3 separate regions of the Homo sapiens genome follow, and regions 1 and 3 are each linked to region 2. Evidence: promoter capture Hi-C in 16 types of primary human blood cells and fetal thymus (Javierre and others, 2016). All regions are on one chromosome and are shown on one strand. Each heading gives the region's core, a stretch centred on a gene start or on the middle of the fragment in contact. The rest is flanking DNA. Distances are from core to core; before and after follow the strand shown.

The links. Contacts are between HindIII fragments. The CHiCAGO score rates a contact against its expected background, and 5 or more counts as called.
Region 1: the fragment with the promoter of DHH here is called in contact with the fragment with the promoter of SPMIP11 in region 2 in 1 of 17 cell types (non-activated CD4 T cells); the score reaches 5.1 in non-activated CD4 T cells.
Region 3: a contact is called between the fragment with the promoter of ZNF641 here and the fragment with the promoter of SPMIP11 in region 2, in 1 of 17 cell types (non-activated CD4 T cells). The highest score is 5.0, in non-activated CD4 T cells.

What each region holds. Positions count from the first base shown.
Region 1 is chr12:49,093,043-49,096,852 of GRCh38, reverse strand. It overlaps DHH (desert hedgehog signaling molecule), which reads left to right and starts at 2,052. Exons shown (of 3, transcript NM_021044.4): 1 at 2,052-2,643. The coding sequence starts at 2,341. DHH-AS1 (DHH antisense RNA 1) reads right to left here. Exons shown (of 4, transcript XR_007063295.1): 3 at 2,665-2,731; 4 at 1,109-1,452. The HindIII fragment of the contact is 10,631 bases long and covers 1,828-3,810 here.
Region 2 is chr12:48,725,364-48,728,831 of GRCh38, reverse strand. SPMIP11 (sperm microtubule inner protein 11) reads right to left here and starts at 1,397. Exons shown (of 4, transcript NM_001351123.2): 1 at 1,273-1,397. The coding sequence starts at 1,351. The HindIII fragment of the contact is 5,202 bases long and covers 1-1,586 here.
Region 3 is chr12:48,349,502-48,352,881 of GRCh38, reverse strand. ZNF641 (zinc finger protein 641) reads left to right here and starts at 1,963. Exons shown (of 6, transcript NM_001172681.2): 1 at 1,963-2,096. RefSeq lists silencers at 1,453-1,532, 1,813-2,242 and enhancers at 1,208-1,944, 2,383-2,452. The HindIII fragment of the contact is 6,093 bases long and covers 1-3,380 here.

The sequences.
Region 1 (3,810 bases), core at 803-3,302, 370 kb before region 2:
GGCTAACCTCCCCGATACACTCATACCTTCAGCCCTATCCTCCCTGGCTTAACTATTGGATATAGAGTAAAATAAGTGGCTGGCTGACAAGGATTTTCATTTCCTACCTGAGAGAAGAATCTAGCTTTTTACTAGAGGCCATCAGTTTCTTGAAAAGCCCATGTGCTATGTTGGGAGTAAGAGCGCAAAACTTAGGCTTATACAGATTGTGTATTGCACAGCTTCCAGGGACACCATTCACCTCATAGTCATTGTGTGGATAGTTACTATGATAGTTTTCTAATAAATGTCAGTCATCTTGAGGAAGGGGTGCTTTTTTTTTCTTTTTTCTTCTTCTTTTTTTTTTTTTTTTTTTTGTGAGACAAGGTCTGGCTCTATCACCCTGGCTGGAGTGCAGTGGTGCAATCTCAGCTCACTGCAACCTCCGCATTCTGGGCTCAAGCCATTCTTCCAGCTCAGGCTCCAGAATAGCTAGGACAACAGACACATGCTACCATGCCTGGCTAATTTTTGTATTTTTAGTAGAGATGGGGTTTTGCCATGTTGCCTGGGCTGGTCTTGAACTCCTGAGCTCAAGTGATCCACCTACCTTGGACTCCCCAAATGATGGAATTACAGGGGTTAGCCACAACACCCAGCCATCTTTTTTTTGGGGGGGGGGGTCCTCACTCTGTCACCCAGGTTAGAGTGCAGTGGCATGATCTTAGCTCACTCTACAGCCTTGAACTCTTGCACCCAAGTGATCCTCCTTCCTCAGCCTCCTGAGTACCTAAGACTACAGGCATGTACCACTACCTCCCACTAATTAATTTTTTTTTTTTGAAACGGGGTGTCACTATGTTGACCAAGTTGGTCTTCAACTCATGGCCTCAAGCAGTCCTTGCCTCGCCCCCAAAGTGTTGGGATTACAGGAGTGAGCCACTGTGCCTGGCCTGGTTTTTTCTGATGTACACAAAGTTGCTATGAGTACTAGCCATAGAGTGTGGTGAGGGGAGGGTGAATATGAAACACAAAGTGTAGATTCCACAAATGCTTGCAAAGCACCCTTCTGTAGAGTAGGCACTTAACCTTGGAGATACATGATAAATATGTGTGTGCTTAAGATTGCTTTGTCTAGTAAGGTGCCAGATAATTCTAATACTGTTCTAACACTGCAGTTAAGTAATGGTTCTCGAGGGAACACAGGTGGGCAGTGTTGGGACATCAAGGAAGGCTTCTTAGAAGAAATGACTTCTAAACAAAAGAAATTGGACGTGGTGCCTCTGAGATGAGATCTGAGTGGCTGAAAATGGAGCCCCGGGAGTCCAGAGAGGGAGAAAGCTGGAGAGGTGCCTAGATGGACGGTTAAGGGAAGTGATCCTCACCTCTTACAAAGACTTTTGAGTGTCCACTGCCCTTCAGCAGCTTCCAACTGAGAAGTCATTCATTTGAAAAACAGCAGCTATTAGATGCCTGGCAAAGAAGAGAAGGGGAAAAAAGTTGGAAGTCCTAAATGAGACAATAAGTACCAAGCTCTGTTCCTGGTTCTGGGGAAGTTCCAAAGGAGACTGCAAAGTTAGTAGAGAAATGGGCCCCTGGTATCCTCACCTCCCAGTCCTGCTTAATGCTGAATGTGAGGAGAGATGGAAGTCGGGGAGATCTGGGGAGGACTACAGAGAAGGGAGGCTCTGGTTGTATGCCCAAAGGGCTTGGCTGGTCTTGGGCAGAAATTGGAACCCATACTTCCTGGATGACAGCGGAGGGCATGGCCTGCCAGGGTAGGCTTTGAGAGAGTAAAAATTCCAATTCAAGTATCAGAGGAGGGTGGTTTGGTTCCAAGTTTAAGCTTGGAGGTAGAAGGATGTTTAGGCAGCCAAGGACTGTAAAGCTACAAGTATTTCCTAGGCAGGTGTCTGCCTGGTTTCCAGGATGGGACACACTTCAGTCGCAAAATGGACCAGCAGTGACCGGCTAGATCCCCCGCCCGGGTGGGAGGGGGTGGGACGGTCTTGGGAGAAGGGCGGAGGGCGGGGCCAGGGGCCACTTAAGGCGGAGTCCGGAGTCCGGGCGTTCTGGCAGCACCAGAGTCCTGCAGCAGAGACGGGCTGGGCTGGCACTCACCCACGACCCCCCTTCCCTGCTATGATGGTTTGTCAGTAGCAGGTCCTAGACACCCCCCGCCCGCTCCCGGGGCACGTGGGCAGAGCTAGCAGCAGCCAGGTGCACGGAGCCACAAGAGCTCTAGGGCACTCTGGGGGCAGCTGTGCCTGCTGCCCTCTCTGGTGCCTGTGGAGATGCCTAACTGACAGGAGAGTTAGTGAGGACAAGAACGCTCCCTTTTGGCCGAGGTCCGCTGTATCCATGGCTCTCCTGACCAATCTACTGCCCCTGTGCTGCTTGGCACTTCTGGCGCTGCCAGCCCAGAGCTGCGGGCCGGGCCGGGGGCCGGTTGGCCGGCGCCGCTATGCGCGCAAGCAGCTCGTGCCGCTACTCTACAAGCAATTTGTGCCCGGCGTGCCAGAGCGGACCCTGGGCGCCAGTGGGCCAGCGGAGGGGAGGGTGGCAAGGGGCTCCGAGCGCTTCCGGGACCTCGTGCCCAACTACAACCCCGACATCATCTTCAAGGATGAGGAGAACAGTGGAGCCGACCGCCTGATGACCGAGGTAAGGAGGGCCTCTCCCTACCTGCGCCGGGGCACTGCCAGCTCCTCCGTTTTCCTATGGCAGCCCAGGTGGGTGAGTCCAGCTTCACCTACAGAGAGTTTAGCCTTAGAGATTTCCCTTGTCACCAGCCCCAGGGGGGGGAAAAATCCTTGCAGTCTGGACAGAGTAATTAGGACGGCTCCCGACTAGAATAGTCTGGGATGGGGAGGGGAGGAGGGACTGACTAGTGAGAGTGAAGCTGGTAGAGGCAGCGAGGGCGGGGAAAGGAGGATGGCGGCAGGCGAGACGGGAAATGGCTGAGGCGTGGACCGGGGGTCAGCCACCCAGCCAGGCAGGAAGGGCTGGGGTGAGCTGGGGGCCAGGAGCTGGCTAGGTAGCAGACAGAAGCCTGGCTCCTGACCTGATTGTAGAAAAGCTCTGTGGGCCGAAAAGAAGAGACTGAAAAGGGCTGGGACAGGGGTGGCCAAGGGTCAGGTCACCAGACCATCTACCTGAGGAGGGGCTGGGCAGACATTGCTTTTGGCATGGGAAACGTGTCCTAGAACCAGGACACATCTATTCTAGGGTCTATTCTAGGGCTATCCTAGGGTCTAAACGATAATCTTGGGGTTAAAAAGTAATCCTCAGTGAGAATAACAGATGGACCCACCTGAGAATCAGAGGGCTCCTAAGTCTTCCAAGCTCTGCCTATCTCAGGGGCTTTCCTTGGAATTACATAATTAGGATAAATTCAACTACCATTTTTGAGCATTGGAACCACCTAGAGTGAGGTGGAAGAGAAGGACCACCTCTGGCGAGTGATTTATTTTTTATTTTTTGTAGAGACGGGGTCTTGCCATGTTGCCTAGGCTAGTCTTGAACTCCTGAGCTCAAGGGATCCTCCCACCTCGGCCTCCCAAAGTGCTGGATTACAGGTGTGAGCCACTTCATCCAGCCTGGCCAGTGATCTTGAATGTTAGAACTGAAAGAAAACTTGAGAGATGACATTCCTCCAACCCTCCCCACCCCCACTGCCACCCTCATTTTACATCTGAGAGCTGGACTTCCCCCAGGAGGAAAAGCAATTTAAACTCTCACAATTTAAAGTGGCATGGCTGGGACTAGAATTCAGGACTCCTGATTCTAAGCCCTATATACTTTCCATTACACCACCTAATTGTGTATGGA
Region 2 (3,468 bases), core at 148-2,647:
CCTCTCCACTTTACCCTTTATGTGTACCCACGAACTTGGAATTCACTTAATATGGTTCTCTCTTAGGTCTCTGTTCCTTTGTCTGTGCTATATCCCCTTCTTTTTTTTTTTTTTTTTTTTTTTTGAGACAGAGTCTCGCTCTGTCGCCCAGGCTGGAGTGCAGTGGCTCGATTTCAGCTCACTGCAAGCTCCGCCTCCCGGGTTCACACCATTCTCCTGCCTCAGCCTCCCAAGTAGCTGGGACTACAGGCGCCCGCCATCACGCTCGGCTAATTGTTTGTATTTTTAGTAGAGACGGGGTTTCACCGTGTTAGCCAGGATGGTCTTGATCTCCTGACCTCGTGATCCGCCCGCCTCGGCCTCCCAAAGTGTTGGGATTACAGGCGTGAGCCACCGCACCCGGCCATCCCCTTTTTAGTGAACGCCAATCATCCTTTAACACCCAGTTCTGGAAGCATTTCCTGTGTGAAGTCTTCTCTGAAGGATTCCCCCATCCTCCACTCCCCCGTTCTTATTCCAAATCCAATAGTATCAGGTACTTCCTTCTTAGTGGCTCTAGAACATTCCATATTTAATGTAATCATACAATATATTGCAATTTTTGTTTGCACACTTATCTTTCTCATCAGATAGTCACTTTATAGCAGAGGTCTTAACCCTAGTCACCAACATAATGCCAGGCACATAAAGCCTGGTGCTTAACAAATGTTGGTTAAATGAGCCAACGAATGACTAAGAATACACTTATTTGGTTGAACAAATTGTGTGTCTTTTTTTTTTTTTGAGATGGTTTCGCTCTGTCGCCCAGGCTGGAGTACGGTGGTGTGATCATGGCTCACTTCATCCTTGACCTCCTGGGCTCAAGTGATTCTCCCACTTCAGCCTCCCAAGTAGCTAGGACCACAGGCATGCACCACCACACCCAGCTAATTTGTGTAACTTTTCATAGAGATGTGGTCTTACTATGTTGCCCAGGCTGGTCTTGAACTCCTGGACTCAAGCAATCCTCCTGCCTTAGCCTCCCAAACTGCTGGAATTGCATGTGAGCTACTGCACCTGGCCCAAATTGTGTGTCTTAATAAGGATATTAAATGACAGGAGAGCAAAGCTGAAAGGATATTGTCCCTATTCCACAATTTTAACTAGTGTAACTGTTGGCCTTGGAGGATAAATCTCTAACCCCAGGTAGGAAAATAAATAGCTAGGAAGTGGCTATGAAGCATCTAGGTAAAGAAGTGGCCCTTCTAACCCTCTACCCTATATTCCCCTTACTTGTTTCTTCAGTTGTGTTCCTTTTCTTGTTCTGAAAGGAATTTTGATATCCCAATAGATACAAGTTGAAGAAGGCCATCTCAGATCCTCCCTGGCCTCTTCTGGAACGTCCAGGTTGGGGCACTGGACTCTGTGCCTGGTAACCATGGTAATGTCCTAAGAATTACCACAACTGACACTCCCTTTGTCTAATGAGGCACAGGATTTATAGGTTCACAGTGGAGCTGGAGTGGGAGTGGGCTAAATAACTTCAGGAAAATGGAGGAATCAATTGTCAGTACACCTTTTCTTGACCTAGTCTTCCAGTGTAAGCTTCAGAAGGCAGTGAGTAGAAAGAGCACCGACCTGGGCTCATATCTTAGTTATGCCATATTCTAGGTGTCTGACTTTGAATAGATTAACTAAGCCTCCATTTTCAATTTTAAATTAAAAAAATGACAATGACAATATCTGACAGTTATGAGAATCAAATGAGATAATATATGCATATTTCCTTAGAACGGTGTTCAACACATAATGGAAACTTAAATTTTTTTTTTTTTTTTTTTTTTAAGAGTCTCCCTCTGTTGCCCAGGCTGGAGCGCAATGGCGCTTTCTCGGCTCACTGCAACCTCTGCCTCCAGGTTTCAAGAGATCCTCATGCCTCAGCCTTCCGAGTAGCTGGGATTACAGGGGCGCGCCACTACACCTGGCTAATTTTTGTATTTTTGGTAGAGACAGGGTTGACCAGCCTGGTCTTGAACTGCTGACCTCAAGTGATCTGCCCTCCTCGGCCTCCCAAAGTGCTGGGATTACAGGTGTGAGCCACCACGCCCCACCAGTATTTAAATGTTAATAGTTATCCAGCCTTATATTCAGGAAAAAAAAGAAATCTGAATAGGATACTTTCAATGAGTCTTTGTTTCAGCAGTGGTGTGCCAATCCATAGTGACTTTTGAAAGCTTGTTAAATTTTCATTGATTTTGTGAATTGGTTGTTAAACAAGGCATTATTAAAAATCAAATTAACTAAACTTACAATTGAATGTTATATTAAAAATAAAGGTAGTACATCGGGTGTGGTGTCTCACACCTGTAATCCCACCACTTTGGGAGGCCGAGACAGATGGATCTCTTGAGCTCACAAGTTTGAAATCAGGCTGGGCACCATGGTGAAACCCTGTCTCTACAAAAAAATAAAACCCACAGAAATTAGTTGGGTGTGGTACGTGACTGTAGTCTCAGCTACTTGGGAGGCTGAGGTGGGAGGATGGCTTGAGCCTGTGTGGTGGAGGTTGCAGTGAGCTGAGATTGTGCCATTGCACTCCAGACTGGCAATAGAGCCAGATCTTGTCATAAAATAAAATAAAAGTAGTAAATACTAACAAGTCATCTCTTCCTGATTATTTTACTCTTATCTATGCTCATGAGTTTATTTACTTCCATTGCATCTGGATATTCCACTCTTTTTTCATTCGTTTTTCTCTTTGTTTTTCCGTTTGGGAAGTTTCCTATTGACATATTTTCAAGCTCACTGATTTTTTTCCTTTGTCATGCCCAGTCTACTGATGAGCCCACCAAAGGCATTCTGCATTTCTGTTACAGTGTTTTTTATTTCTAGCATTTCCTTTTGATTCTTTAGAGTTTTCATCTCTCTGCTTACGTTGCCCTTTGTTCTTGAATGTTGTCCTCTTTTTCCATCCTTTGTTCTTGAATGTTGTCCTCTTTTTCCATTAGTGTCCTTAACATGTTAATAGTTATTTTAAAATCTCAGTCTGATAATTCCAAAATTTCTGCCATATGTGAGTCTGGTTCTGATGCTTGATTTGTCTTTTTTGAGATGGAGTCTCACTCTGTCGCCCAGGCTGGAGTGCAGGGGCACGTTTTCAGCTCACTGCAACCTCCGCCTCCTGGGTTCAAGCAATTCTTCTGCCTCAGCCCCCTGAGTAGCTGGGATTACAGGTGTCTGCCACCTTGCCTAACTAATTTTTTATTTTATTTTTTTATTTTTATTTTTTTATTGATCATTCTTGGGTGTTTCTCGCAGAGGGGGATTTGGCAGGGTCATAGGACAATAGTGGAGGGAAGGTCAGCAGATAAACAAGTGAACAAAGGTCTCTGGTTTTCCTAGGCAGAGGACCCTGCGGCCTTCCTCAGTGTTTGTGTCCCTGGGTACTTGAGATTAGGGAGTGGTGATGACTCTTAACGAGCATGCTGC
Region 3 (3,380 bases), core at 714-3,213, 380 kb after region 2:
CACCTGGCTTTTTTTATTTTTTGGAAACAATCTCACACTGATTTGTTTCCCAAAACAGTCGAGGAGAGTTTGGGCTATTATAATATCTATCAGTTCTTTCCAAACATTCTTTTCAGGTAAAGTCAGGTTTACGTACTTGGTTATGTTCAATTTAACTCTGTGTGACGAGGCAATGCTGTGTCCAGCAGCGCCCATTTCCTTTTCCATGAGGCACACATTCTTTACTTCCCAGCCACCCTTCTGGGTAGGGCCATGTGACCATGCGCATGAGTTCTGGCTAAGGGAATGGGGTGAAAATGATACACACCACTTCCAGGACTGGCCCCTAATATCTCTGACAAGTTAACCACGGCCAGCCTCCCTTATCTGAGGGCCACAGATTTGACTACATTACCAAGGCCTCGGCATGGGAGAACCACCAAATGCAAGAAGCCTGGTCCTTCAATGAATTCAAGAAGTACAGACCCCACCCTCTGGCCCCAACCAACTTGTTACCACACTGTGACTTGTATGAACATAAGCCTTTATGGAGTTAAGCCCCGAGATACTGGTTTTGCTAGCCTACTCCAATTAACGCACCTTATATTTACCACCAGTGGTAGCATAAGTGAAAAGAACCCCTGGACTTAGTTCCAGGACCCGGGATAAAAATTCTGGCTCTACTACTACCCCGACATATCCCATGATCTGCTCCTAGAATATGCTCTATACTCTTCCCAACTGCGTGTCTACTGCATTTTCCTCTTTCATTAGACAGCCCTCCTGACTCTTCTCTGCCTCACGATTTCTGTCAGAGTGGGGGGCCTTCTCTGACCTCCGTCCCATACGTGGTCACTTCTCTTTGCTTCAAGTGCAGCGTACGTTCCTCTGTTTTAGAATCTACGTTTTTATTGCAAATATTTGTTGACATGTGCTTCCCCAGACTGTGAATCCTTTAACTCCCAGCATTTAGTTACAGTGTCTGGCACACGTAGAAAATAAATATGCATTAAACGAATGATTGTCACATATGACCTTAAGTGAGTCAATTATTTTTTAAGTCTACTAAATAAAATTTTTGAAAATTGTTGTAATGATGAAATAAGGAATGTGAATGTGACTTGTAGGTTATAAACAGATTCTAACAGCAATGGGTTTACTCACTGTTTGTAGGCCCTTCTCATCTTTTCTAGTCAAATCCATCTTAATGCTGCAAGGTAGCACTATCCAATAGAAATATAATGCAAGCCATATTTATAGCCACATTTAAAAAGTTAAAACCAGGTGAAATTAATTTTAATATATTTAACCCAATATACCCAAAATATCACTTTTTAAATTAAATCTTCTAAATCTTGGAACACATCTCTATTCAGACCAGCCACATTTCGAGAGCTCAGGTGTCACCTGCGGCTACGGCTCCCGCAAATGGGACAGCAGCCGCAAGGCCAACTTCAGATAGCAACCTGACTTCCCCTCAGGCAGAATAAGTGACTCCTCCTCAGTGCTCTCTCAAGCCCTTTATCCTATCGTGAAAACTAGAGGGTACGCTCCTTGAGGAATTCCAGACTGTTGTCTGGAGAAATCGCTCTCGGCCTCGGTCTGGCCTGTAACGGGCGGTTACGCAATTCCAGGTAATTGACGAACCCTGAGGACAGAACTCCGTGGGAGGCCCAGTAGCCAGAGCGGAAAATGGTCAGTCAGGCAAGAGTGCGGGCAAGTGGCCACAGCAGGCTGCGATTCCGGCGCCCGCCGCCCTCCAAGCGTCTCGGGCCGCACCCTCCCCACAGCGGCGGGCGCGGAGGTCCCGGGTTCGCGTTTGGGGGCGCCTGAGCCGCAGCCCCGCCCCCTCCCGTCCCTCCCTCCCTCCCTCCCTCCCACTCCTCTCCCTCCCACTCCTCTCCCTCCCACTCCCCGCACCTCCGCCGCCGCAGAGCCCCGGAAGCGGGCGGGGATTTCCTGTGCCCGCCCCGCCCCGCCCGCGCCTGCCGGGCCGCCGTCTCCGCCTGTCGCTGGCTCCGCCGGCCGCCGGCTCCCAGACGCAAGCGGAGGGCGGAGGGGAGGGGCAGGCGGCGCCCGGGAGGGAGGCACCGGGCCGCGGGCCAAGCCTACCGGGGGTGAGTGGAGCCGGGCCGGAGGGAGCTGCGGCTGGAGGGAGGGACGCCTGGCTTCCCGGGGCGGCTGGTGGGGGCTCGGTCACCCATAGGGGCTGGGAGGAGGATCGGCGCGTCTTCCGGGTTGCTGCCTTTCCCGGGGGTCTGCCCCGCTGACATTCTGTGCCCGCCTCTCGCCCTGTCTCCCCGTGCCCATCGCAACTGTCAGGCCCTGCGGGCTCCCGCCGCTGTCACTCGCGCACAGGTTACCCCGTGGCTCCCTTTCTCTTCACTTGCTCATGCCCCAGCTCATGGGAAACCTGTTTTCTGACCTCACTTCCCCTGCTCCAGTTCTGCCTTGCTCGGATTCTCTGAAATCTGACCCTTTCCAGGGGCACTGTGACAAGAAGAAGGGAAGAAGCAACCTTACCCCTGAGCAGGCTCCCGTCCCGCCCATGCCCTACCCGTGGCAGGGGCCAGGGTTCTCTGATGGACGGAGCCAACTCGTCCGTGTGCCCTTGGGCTACTCATTTTTATAACATGGCCCCTTTTCTGTTCATCAGCACTGGCTGCAGAAACTTCCTTTTGCAGGTCCCTTGCTACCCATATGTGTGAAGAAAAGGGGGAAATGAAAGCCCTAGAACCCACACTGCAGTGGGCATGGGATCATCCTGGAACCAGGAGAAACGAGGTTAGGGCTACCACCTTAACCGCCCAGGTGCTGGCTCTGCGTGAATATCTTAGGAAATGCAAGCTGAGGACAGGTACCCATCCCATCCTTTGCTGAGATTTTTGCTAGCACTTCCACGGATTTCTGTCAGTGGTATAGAAAAACTTACAGCTGGCCCAATGGGCTCTGCACAAAGAGGCTTCCCATTAAGAGACTCTGCTACCTGGGGGAGATGGAGAAAGGGTTTGAGACAAGTGTCCAGATATGTAGCTAGAGGTAAAGCCTTCAGGGAGGATTTGCACAGGAGCTAGAGAACCAGAAAGATGGGACGAAGAGGGAGAATTAGTGCCCTGTGTGTTAAAAGTGGATACAGAGCTGGAATTCAGAGAAGAGAGCTAAAATGGAAGTTTCCCTTTATTGCTTTAGCAAGAATTTTCCTTTCTCATGAAAAGTCTCTGAAAAGGAAACCTCCTAGGCTGGGAATCAGTCCAGGGTGCTCCCATGAGGCCCTGAGCCATCTTTGGACTTCTGAGATAAAAAGGGAATTTGTTTTTCCTGTGCATTGGGCTTAGGGTTCCCACCTACCTCTTTTGTCAAAGACAAATAGGCAAGAAAATAGACGACTTGACATCTGTGAT